Regions from separate parts of the Homo sapiens genome. Here region 2 is linked to region 1. The links are contacts of gene promoters, found by promoter capture Hi-C in blood cells and fetal thymus (Javierre and others, 2016). All regions are on one chromosome and are shown on one strand. Each heading gives the region's core, a stretch centred on a gene start or on the middle of the fragment in contact. The rest is flanking DNA. Distances are from core to core; before and after follow the strand shown. Region 1 holds the start of TSPAN15 (tetraspanin 15). Region 2 holds the start of LOC101928994 (a long non-coding RNA gene).

What was found. The method cuts DNA at HindIII sites, captures the fragments that hold promoters and counts their contacts. A CHiCAGO score of 5 or more calls a contact.
Region 2: a contact is called between a fragment that was not itself captured here and the fragment with the promoter of TSPAN15 in region 1, in 1 of 17 cell types (activated CD4 T cells). The highest score is 5.6, in activated CD4 T cells.

Annotation. Positions count from the first base shown.
Region 1 is chr10:69,448,634-69,454,244 of GRCh38, reverse strand. It overlaps TSPAN15 (tetraspanin 15), which reads right to left and starts at 2,780. Exons shown (of 8, transcript NM_012339.5): 1 at 2,555-2,780. The coding sequence starts at 2,650. RefSeq lists enhancers at 1,760-2,260, 3,052-3,191, 3,141-3,758, 3,759-4,377 and a silencer at 2,622-2,931. The HindIII fragment of the contact is 1,152 bases long and covers 1,917-3,068 here.
Region 2 is chr10:69,229,330-69,234,940 of GRCh38, reverse strand. HKDC1 (hexokinase domain containing 1) reads right to left here. Exons shown (of 18, transcript NM_025130.4): 3 at 2,029-2,177; 4 at 1,808-1,927. LOC101928994 (a long non-coding RNA gene) reads left to right here and starts at 2,451. Exons shown (of 5, transcript NR_120648.1): 1 at 2,451-2,570. RefSeq lists enhancers at 1,569-2,294, 1,908-3,107, 5,104-5,153, 5,194-5,253, 5,553-5,611. The HindIII fragment of the contact is 6,469 bases long and covers 331-5,611 here.

The sequences.
Region 1 (5,611 bases), core at 1,531-4,030:
GGCCCGGCCCCAGTAGTAATTTTTAAAGTAAGCAAAAAGTCTTACAGAAGGTACAAGGCTGTCATAAAACTTATGGCCCTCCAGACCTAAAAACTGAGATGCAAATTGCTAGCAGTTTGGACTTACAAAGCAAGTAACCCTTCCCTCAACCCCAGAGATGGCACCAGAGATGGCACCAGAGATAATAGGCTTTCCTGTAAATGGTTTCCAAATAACAGTAAACCTGGTCCAGGACAGATTACTTACTCACACTGGGCCCTGCCCTGCAGTCAAACTCTGGCACCTGGAGCTGCTCTGGCAGAGTTGGCAGGTGGCTGAGTTCTTGGCATGGGTGTAGAGACTTTTAAACAGAAATACTTCCAGGGATGGGAGTTAAGGATTTGGTAAGGCAACCTCAGTTGGCAGAGGAGGGATTCCAAGTTCTGAGAACCACCCTGCCCAAGAGAAGCAAGGCAAGGGCCATTGGGTGGGCTTCTCTGGGGGCTGCAAAGGACAGTGACAGAACAAAGCCTTAAAAATTAGAGTTCAGTTTTATTTAACTGCATGAGGTATGTTTGTACTGCACTGATTTTGCTCATATGTCACTCTTTCCCCATATCACTAATCCTAAAACAATTCAGTGAGGTACAGGGCAGAGATTCACTTATTCATTTTATAGATGAGAAAATGGAAACGTGAGGAGGTAGAGAGACTGGTTTGTGATTATATATCTGGGGAAGGGGTGAAGCCCAAAATACAACTCCATCTTCCTACCTCCCCACCCATCAACCTTAGGCTCTTTCAACTCTGATTTACAGAGAGAAGGGCTCACAGAACACACAAGGGGCAGGCACAGAAATCCTGGGGACTTAGGGGACCTATGAGACCATCTAGGGCAGCAGTTTTCAATACTGACTGCACACTAGAATTACCTTAATTCTAGTAAGTAATTTACTACAATTAAGCTTATGTAAATTTAAATAAATACCTATGCCAGGGCACAAGAATCTGATGCAACCGCTGATTTATAGCTCAAATCACCCCCACTCCCATCCCACATATGACCTTCTGTCTCCCTAGAGCTTCCACCAACAGGTCCTTGCTCCATCCTCCGCCCCCCAAACATACTGTTCATCTCTCCTCCACATTACCTAGAGTCAGAGAATTGGATTGGAAACTGGCCTCAGACTAGTCTTCTAGATGGAAAAGTCAATGAACAGTTCTGAGGCCCAAAACAGGAAAGTGACTTGCCTAAGATATCCATAAGTCAGTAACAGAGCTGAATCTGGATCTCCGATTACCAGGCAAGGCCCCACCCACAAAGGGGTCACAGGGAAAGCCAGTCCTGATGGCAAATCCAGCAGCTCCTGCTAGCAGAAGAGACCCAGCAAGGGGCTAAGGAGGACACCAGGGGAGAGTGTGTGTATTTGGTGGGAATGGGGTGTCAGTGACCACCCTGGGTCCCTGGGCAAGTCTGCTCTTGTGGCATACTGCAGGCAGAGAGCGATTCTGGAGTGACAGGGGCGGAGCTGGCCTATAGGAAGATATCCTCATCTCTAGAATAGGGCCCAGCCTAATATGAAACGCCCTTACAGAAACCCAATCTCTTGGGGCAGCTTACACCACAGGTGTCCAAATTCCCTGCCCACGATAGTAATAATGTCTCACACTTCTTGAGCTCTTCACTAGGCACCATACCCGGCCTATTTCACGTAATCTCCGCGAGCATCCTACAAGTTGAATATAATTACTGTGTCCATTTACAGATGAGGAAACCATGGCCGAGAGGAATGAAGTAACTTCCCCAAGATCACTCAGCAAGTGCTCATTTCAGAAACGCACAAACTGAAATTGGAACGATACAGAGATTAGCAATGTTTTAAATAAAAAATAAAATATAAAATAAAAGACCACTCGGAGCGACGGAATTCAAAGCTTGGTTCATGTCTAAACACTACCATCCTGCCCCCTAACAAGGCAGAGGAGGAGGTAAAGCCCAGCGACAGCGGAAACTGAGCACCTAGGTGTGCAGGAGACGTCGTCTGGTGGACTTCTCCTCGCCACGCAGGAGGCACGTGCATCCACCAAAGAGGAAACCAAGACGGAGCGGGGAAGCGTCTCGCTCAGGGGCATCAGCAAGTAACTAGCAGGGACCAGACCCGGAATCCAGGTCTCCCAACCCCGACTGCAAATCCTAACTACTTAAGCTCCACAGGCCGATGCAGAGGCAGTCAGTCCTACCGGGTAGGCGTGGTGGGCGCGGCCAGCGCGTTCACCTCAGCCTAGCCAGCCGGCCAGCGGACGCACAGCGGGCAAACCGCCCAGCCGGTGCACACAGGTGAGCCAGGTGGCACTCGGTCGGTCGACAACCGGCTCTCACACTCCCGAAAGGGCGGCTGAAAATTCAGGCTGAGCTCTGGCCGCCCGAATGTGAGGTAGAAAGACAAGGAGTCCGCGCGCGCTCACCCGCGCACTCCCTGGAGCGGCTAAGTGTGGACCCAACCCCGGGCCAGTGAGGGGGCGGCCGGATTGTGGGTCCCCACCCCCATCCCCGGGCCCTACTGGGGTCACTCACCCAGAACACGGTGGAATAGATGATAAGTGAAAACTTGAGCCAGAGGTAGGAGAAGCGCGCGCAGTAGCGCACCTGCTCCGAGTCCCCGCGCGGCATCCTGGGCGCTCCCCGCGCGGGTTACGGGGGCTCCGGGGCTCTCCGGCTCGGTCCCTCAGCCAGCGCTCGTGGCCCCACCTGCGGCTGCCGGGCTACCAGCCCCGCCACCGGCGTTCTCTCCGGGACTGACACTGGAGCGCGGCAATCACAGCCCCAGCCGGGAAGCCTGCCAGCCCTGGCGGCCAATGGGAGGCCGCGGCTGCCTAGCGTCTGGGAGGGGGCGGGCCAGGGGCGGGGCTGCTGCCCTGGGCCCTAGAGGGGACCAAGAAGGGATGGGAGGGGGAGACGGTCTTGCAAATGAGCTCGCGTGCAACTCTGGAAACGCCTGTGCTAATGCAGGGGGCGTGGGAGAGGTGAACCAGAGGTGCTCTAAGGAGAGAGCGAGCGTGCCTAATCGGGGTACATAGAAATGCAAGCTTTCCTCTTGTCAAGAGGGAAAACTTTGGGAAAAGGGCAAGAATTAATCGCCCAGGTGTTGAAAGTGCAAATGAGTGTGCTAAACGTGAATGGAATAAGGAAGTGGAGTTGCTCGGCTCAGGAAGGCTCAGGGAGGCAGACCAGGGTGGGGCTAATAGGCCCCCATGGAGCTGGAGTCTGAAGTTTGCTCGTGAAACAGATCTGCTGAAGGCCTTCACCAAACGACCTCGGAAGTCCCCTTCTTTTGCCAGGTGATAACCCAGCCTTGGGAAGGGTTCCTCCCGGGAAACCCCATCTTCAAACTAGGTTGAAGGCCTGGCGCGGTGACTCACGCCTGTAATCCCAGCACTTTGGGAGGCTGAGGAGGGCGAATGGCTTGAGCCCCAGGAGTTCAAGACCAGCCTGGGCAACATGGCAAAACGCCGACTCTATAATTAAAAAAAATAAAAAGCCAGGCACGGTGGCGCGCCTGTTGTCCCAGCTACTTGGGAGACAGGCGGGAGAATCGCTTGAGTCAGGGAAGTCAAGGCTGCAGTGAGCCGTGATTGTGCCAGTGCACTCCAGCCTGGGAGACAGAGTGAGACCCTCTCTCCAAAACAAAAACAAAAACAAGGCCGGGCACGGTGGCTCACGCCTGTAATACCAACACTTTGGGAGGCCAAGGCGTGCGGATCACTTGAGGTCAGGAGTTCGAGACTAGCCTGGACAACGTGGTGAAACCCTGTCTCTACTAAGAAATACAAAAAAAATTAGCCGGGCAGGGTGGTGCATGCCTGTAGTCCCAGCTACTGGGGAGGCTGAAGCAGGAGAATCGCTTGAACCCGGGAGGCGGAAGTTACAGTGAACCGAGATCCCGCCACTGCACTCCAGCCTGGGTGACAAAGGGAGACTCCATCTCAAAAAAACAAAAAACAAACAAACAGAAACTATAGGTGAGGGAGGCAGCTCCCTCTCTTGCACATAGCCAGCCACTAACCCAGCCTCCTCCCACCTGGCCTTTTCTCAGCCTGGGACCAGAGGTGGCTGTGAGCCTGTCTCTCATGCTAGATGGTCCCAGCTTTACTCACTGTTGTTTCCTGTCTCCCAAGCCTAGCTCAGCCTGGGACTTGGGAGCCAGACAATCCCTGCTGTGGCCTTCAGTAATTAAATCCATGGCAGAGGTCATAAGCTCTAGCAGTGCTGGGTGGGGTCCCTGGTGGTGATTTCAGGAACGACACTCTTATACAAGTCCCCAGTCCTGGGTTCCCAGGGCTCCTGCATACACAAACTCAACAGAGAAGGACAGACTCAGAGACTTAGTCCAGGCTGGCTTTAGCCCCCAGAGCTCTGCCCTAGGAGGAAGAAAGCAAGATTGGGGGGTGGGGAGGGAGGCAGTGCCATGCCTGGAAGGGTAAAAGGAAACCAATTTCCTGGTACAAAACAAACAAACCTTGGGAGGATGTTTGTGTGGGGTAGAGAAATAGAACCAGAGCCAGGCACAGTGGCTCATGCCTGTAATCCCTGCACTTTGGGAGGCCAAGGTGAGAGGTTTGCTTGAGTCCAGGAGTTTCAGACCAGTCTGGGCAACGTAGCAAGACCTCATCTCCACTGAAAATCAAAAAAATTAGCCAAGCATGGTGTCTCGTGCCTGTAGTCCCAGCTACTTGGGAGGGTGAGGTGGGGGTATCACTTCTCGAGCCCAAAAGATCAAGGCTGCAGTGAGCTATGATTGTGCTACGGCACTCCAGCCTGGACAACAAAGCAAGACCCTGTCTCAAAAAAAAAACAACAGGGAAAAGAAAAGGTGGAAAGAGAACCAGAGAGTAATGCAAGCTGCCCTCAAATGATTATCTGAGGGCCAAGAAGGCATCTTACCATAGTGTTAAAAGTTGTCCATTCTGGCCGGGCGCGGTGGCTCACACCTGTAATCCCAACACTTTGGGAGGCCAAGGCAGGGGGATCACTCGAGGTCAGGAGCTCAAGATCAGCCTGGCCAACATGGTGAAACCCTGGCTCTACTAAAAATACAAAAATTAGCCGGGCATGGTGATGGGTGCCTGTAATCCCAGCTACTCGGGAGGCTGAGGCAGGAGAATCACTTGAACCTGGATAGCAGAGGTTGCAATGAGTCAAGATCGTGCCACTGCACTCCAGCCTGGATGACAGAGCGAGACTCGGTCCCCAAAAAAAAAAAAAGTTGTCCTTTCTGTCCTTTGAGGAGGAAGACTAACTTTTTATTCCTCTTTGAGGGCTAGAGCCTCCACCCAGCCCTGCAGAGCTAAGTCCACACCCATTATTTGAGGTGCTAGTCTCTTCCCCACCCATAGAAGCTTGGAACCCTCTTCATACCCTGGAAGGCTAGTTTAGCCTCCTAGTTCCCTTTCATTCTCCATATTTAAACTACAGTCGAAACTGCCACACACCTCCATCAGGTTTCCTTCCCAGTTGCCCCTGGACTTCTATTCTTCCCTTCTGGCCTCTCCAGCCAGCTGCATTTTCTCTCATCTTTCAAATATTCCCTGGTGACACACAAGCTTCTTAGCAAGCCCTCTCAGCTCTCCCTAA
Region 2 (5,611 bases), core at 2,316-4,815, 220 kb after region 1:
TATAAAAGAATGAAAAAGTAAAACTCAGCCTGTCCCCTGTATAGATGATGGCAAATTCCCACGATGGAATCAAATAAATGATTGACACCTTTCAACTGTGAGATAGTTATCAAGCACCTATTAAATACAACACATTGTCAGAGACCTTGGCGGGGAAGGTCTGTGCCCTTGGCGGGCACTGCTTGCCCTCCAAAAACCTCTGTTGAATTTAGGGATAAGATACAAAAGCACAAAGAGACAAGTAATCCAGGGACAGTCACCACAGCCTAGCAGCTACTGTGTAAGGCCCAACCACAGTGTTGGATGCTTTACAAATGCTTTGCCTAAGCTTCACCTCAGCCCAACAAGCAGATGTTATTATCCCTGCTTTACAAATGAGAAAACAAGGTGGGACACAATGGCCCATGCCTGTAATCCCAACGCTTTGGGAGGCAGAGGCAGGCAGATTACTTAAACCCAGGAGTTTGAGACCAGCTTGGGCAATATAGTGAGACCTCATCTCTACAAAGAAAAAAATAAAAATAAATAAAATTTTCTCAAAGAGAAAACAAGAGGCTCATGAAATTAAGGAACTGGTCCAAGGGGACACAATTTGTCCTGAACCATGATTCAAAGCCATGTGTGTGGAACATGAAAGCTCATTCCCTTTCACTATTCCACACCAATAAGTGACTCAAGCCAACAATATCAAGCACATCCCAAGGAGGTCCATGTGACTGTCAACTGGGCATCATAACCAGGAGGGCCAGGAGGAGGAGATTGATCAGGGTCCCCAACCCAGACAGGAGTGGCCCGGGGAGACTAGACTCTTGACAGTAACTCCCCCAACCTGGCCCCAGAACGTCCCCTTATTTGCTGTCTTTATTCACATAAGATTGGGTTAGCTTCCTCCTGCTTACAGATTGAAAACTGAGACACACAGAGATGAGTTACCAGGAACCCCGGCCTAGCTGGTGACACAGTTCAGACTGTGTATCCCAGGCTCTGTGTCTGCTCCAGGACATTCTCACTCCTCCAGTGCCCCCATTCCTTTTTTTTTTTTTGAGACGGAGTCTTGCTCTGTCACCCAGGCTGGAGTGCAGTGGCACAATCTCGGCTCACTGCAAGCTCCGCCTCCCGGGTTCACGCCATTCTCCTGCCTCAGCCTCCCAAGTGGCTGGGACTACAGGCGCCCGGCACCACACCCAGCTAATTTTTTGCATTTTTAGTAGAGACGGGGTTTCACCATGTTAGCCAGGATGGTCTCGATCTCCTGACCTCATGATCCGCCCGCCTCGGCCTCCCAAAGTGCTGGGATTATAGGCGTGAGCCACCGCGCCTGGTCCTCCAGTGCCCCCATTCTAATCCTCCTCCTGAGGGCTCACTACAGGGAGAGACTCCCCAGCCTTCCCATGTTTCTTCTAGTTGGCTATGTCAGTGGTCCTAAGTGCAGGCCTCAGGCAGCATCACATCTGCCAGGAACCTGTCAGGGAGGCGAATTTAGGGCCTCCTTGCAGAACCACTGATTCCAGTAGGCCCAGCAATCTGTGCTTAAAACAAGCCCTCCAAGGAATTCCTCACACCAAGGTTTGAGAGCTAGTGAAAAGCATTCTACTCCCCCGAGCTGTGCCCACGTTAATCATAAAATCAAGGCCATTGCGTTAACAAGTTCTCTGCCTCACGCTGCCACCTCATCATGAACAAAAAGAAAAGAAAAAGACAAACAAGAAAGCTCCTGCTGTTCTCTCCTGCGTGCAGCCTGACTCCCACCCGTGCCCACATTCCCCAAGCCCCAATTCCTGCACTGCTGCTTCCCTCCGCGCCTTACCTCTTCCAGTTTAGTCTGTCGACAGGGGAAAGAAAAAGTTAGGCCAAGGGGCAATTTCTTATGCTTTAAATCTTTGGTCTTCATGAAATCTGCCAGACAGTCAGCTACATATTCAAACAGCTGCAGAGAAGAGAAAGCAAAGTACATGGGCTAAGGTGTGGTTTCCCCACACACGGATGCCACCGCCTTCCCTGCGGTCACAGGAGCCACCTGCCAGGTACCTCTGTGCCGTTCCCGCGGATGATTTCATTGGGCGTTGGGTAGAACTGACTCTCCATCTGCACGTGTCGCTTCCCCTCTTCAGCGACTTGCACCTTCAGCACTCGGAACTTGGACCCTCCGAGATCCAGGGAAAGGAACTCCCCATTTTCTATTAAGAAACAAATTCAGTTTCCATTTATTGAGGGTCTACTACAGATATGGCAAGCTCTGCATTAGAGGTTGGACATATAATCAACGTCTTCAAATCACAGCCACTAGGTATCATTATGCTCATTTGCCAAGGCTGAGGACTCTGGCCATTTCTCAGAGCCCTCGAGGTAAGGCGCAGAGCTGAGATGTGAACTAAGTCAGCCTGACTCTGCAGCCTGAGCCCAACCCACTGGCTCATGCTGTAGGAATGTGCATGTCAACTGGAGAGGGCAAATGTGAGCACAGCCCTTGCGGTGGTATGAGAGGTGGCCTCGACGGTGGAGCCCATCCTGGGATGCCATCACTGGGAAGAGAGAGCTGGTGCTCCCAGCCTGGGGAAACTCGGATAAAGGTATGAGGGGGAAGACAGGATGTGCGGCGAGGAGCAGCCAGCCTCCTGCAGCCGATGATCCTATGGGCAGAGGGAAAACACTCCTGGAGGGGAGAGGAGACAGGGACTAAACAATGGCCCTTGAGGTGCCAAGGATGCTGATTTTTTTAGGCCAGAGCCACTCCAAAAGGAGACATTGGAACACAACCCAGCCCAGCCCAAGACAGATGCCATTAATTGAAAGGTGGGGGCTGGGCACAGTGGCTCATGCCTGTAATCCCAGCATTTTGGGAGGCCGAGACGGGCAGATCACCTGAGGTCAGCAGTTCAAGAACAGCCTGGCCAACTTGGTGATGTTGCTGCTGTTGCTGGTCTGTAGACCATAGTTAGAGTAGCAAAGGTGCAGCCAGCTCGATTTTTTGTTTTTGTGTAGACATCCGGAAATTCTTACCTTCACAGATCAGCCACAAAGGAGCTGATGGAGTCATTTATTATTTGGTGAGGGAATTCAGGGAGTTAATCCTATGCAACTTTTATTAGTATATATTATGCACCAAGTAAGAGGGTTCTCCCAGATGCTGTCTTGCTGTGTAGGAGGTAGGGTAGATCCCACAATCTATGTCCACACATTTACTGAGCATCTACTCTGTGCTGAGTAACATGTGTTAGGTGCTAGGGATGCGCAGATGAAAGACGGTGTGCTCCCTGGGAAATTGATCCGAAATACAGGCGCATAAATCAGCTATTTCCATATAGTAGGACCAGTGCTCAGATTGTGAGAGGCACAGGGAGAGATATCCAGGTCAAAGCTGGGAGACAAAGGCAGCTGGCTTTGCAGGGAGGGGACACAGAGCTGAGTGTTGAAGGGTGAGCAGGAGTCAGGCTGCCAGGCTGCCGGGAGCGGGGGTCCCAGGGAGAGGAACCACGGGCAAAGGAATGAGAAAGCATCCGCTAAGAGTGAGTGTGCTTTTGCCAAAGGAGGGCAGCTGTCACAGAAATGAGGTTGGAAGGTGGCTCTCAGGTTAAATTTGGAAGGATTTGGAAAAGCTATCCACCCCAAGGAGCTTGGGCTTTATCTGGAAGGTGAGAGGGAGCTGCAGAAAGATTTTAAGCTAGGGAGTGCCAAGATCTGAGATTCTGGGGACAAATGCCTCTGACACCAACCAGAATAGACTGAGGGTTTAACAAAAGAAGAGGCTGCTGCACTGCCATCGGACGGGAGGGGATGTGCTGAGACCTGGCCAGTGTCGGTGTGGAGGCATCCCACTCCCGGCCCGCATCGCAATCACTATCAAACACCTCACTCCACCAGTGGCTCGAGGTGCCATTTCATGGATGCCACATGGTGTGATCCCTTCTGTCTCTGACCCCAGAAAAAAGGAACCAGTGGACCCTGGGAGAGGGAGGACTTGCCCAGGCAACAGCAGTCTGTGGGGCCTCAGAGTCTTCACAGACATCAAGAAAACAGCCCCGGCCAGGCACGGTGGCTCACACCTGTGGTCCCAGCACTTTGGGAGGCCCAGGCAGGAGAATTAATCCCTTGCCAAGAGTTCAACACCAGCCTGGTCAATATGGTAAAACCCTGTCTCTACAAAACAAAAGACAAAAAAGTCAGTTGGGCGTAGTGGCATGCACCTGTAGTCCCAGCTACTTGGGAGGCTGAAGCAGGAGGATCACTTGAGCCTAGAAGGTCAAGGCTGCAGTGATCTATGATGGCTCCATTGCACTGCAGGTTGGGCAACGGAGGGAGACCTTGTTTCTAAAAAGAAAGAAAAGAGAAAACAGTGTCCTAAGCGGGGTAAATTGCTTTGGCCAATCTGCCTGCTCCAGAGGACCCTCCATGAACTGCCTTGGACCCAATGGTTCCCTTCTCGTAAGTCACTGCTGGTGCTGGTGCCTTCACTCCCTCCTTTTACCCAGTGCAGAGTCTCCCAAAGGTGCACAGTGGCTGAATGCGGAGATTCCTGGAGATTCAGAGTCCCCAGGGGGAGGGGCTGGGAAAGTGTGTATTAGGAAACACTCGAGGCTCCAGGCTGACGACCTCAGGGCTCCCGGGCTCACCCCCAAGGCCTATTTGGCCTTGGAGGCTGACTGGAGGCTAAGGCCTGGAACAGAGCCAGCAGGGGTCAAGCCAAAGAATCACAGTCACCCTCATGCTTCCCATGCCCCTTCCATGACTGGCAGAGAAGGCTCCAGTATTAACACAGCACTTTTAAGGCACTTGATCCTGTCAGAACAGACCACTGCAGCCCCCTGACCAAAAGGCTGGGTGGTAACTAAGGCTCAAACAGGTGACTCCCTCGCAGATAGGTCCTGATGGGAGTAGGCAAACTCAGGACTTCTCTGGAAGCTGCATACATTTCTGAAACGGACACCATAAGGAATTAGGAGAGTTTTGCTTGTTTTTTGTCGGTAATCATGAAATTATACCACCAGCTCACAAGAGCTAGGAGGACTTGGGACAAGATTTTAGAGATGTTAAAGCACGCCATCCACATGATCTCATTAAATCCTGACAATCATGTATGGTGCCGGGATTTACCAAGAACACCTGGCTTATTAGGGACTCTGGGCCCAGGGACCTCGGCACAACAGAATCACTGGTGAGATGCTTTGTGTGGTGAGAGGCTCTGCGGAGACGGGGATGGGGAGCTGGGCGTCTTCCCGGCTAAGGAGGAGAGAGTTTCTATGACTTAGTTAGTTTCACTTCTGAACCTTCAGAAGCAGCCAGGGCCAGGAGGACACCGCCTGTCCCAGAGCCTCCAGACCATCAAAGGCCACCTTCCCTTGCTTCTGGGGACACACCTTGTCTGTATCAGGAGGAGGGGCTGCAGTCCAGGAAGCCAGGCGGACTTAGCCCTGGTGCTCCCCACATGACTCAGCTGCTTCCTCCCAGGGGCCCCAGATGCCCTGTCAAGGACACGTCCCAGTACTCTCGTCAAGCTGTGGCAAGGACAGAGCCAAGATTTCAAAGTAGGGCTGTCTCTCTCCGAAGCTCAACGTCCTTCCAGGACAGGGCACTGTCCATCCCAAGCACCTACCCACAAGTGAGGGCACAGGGC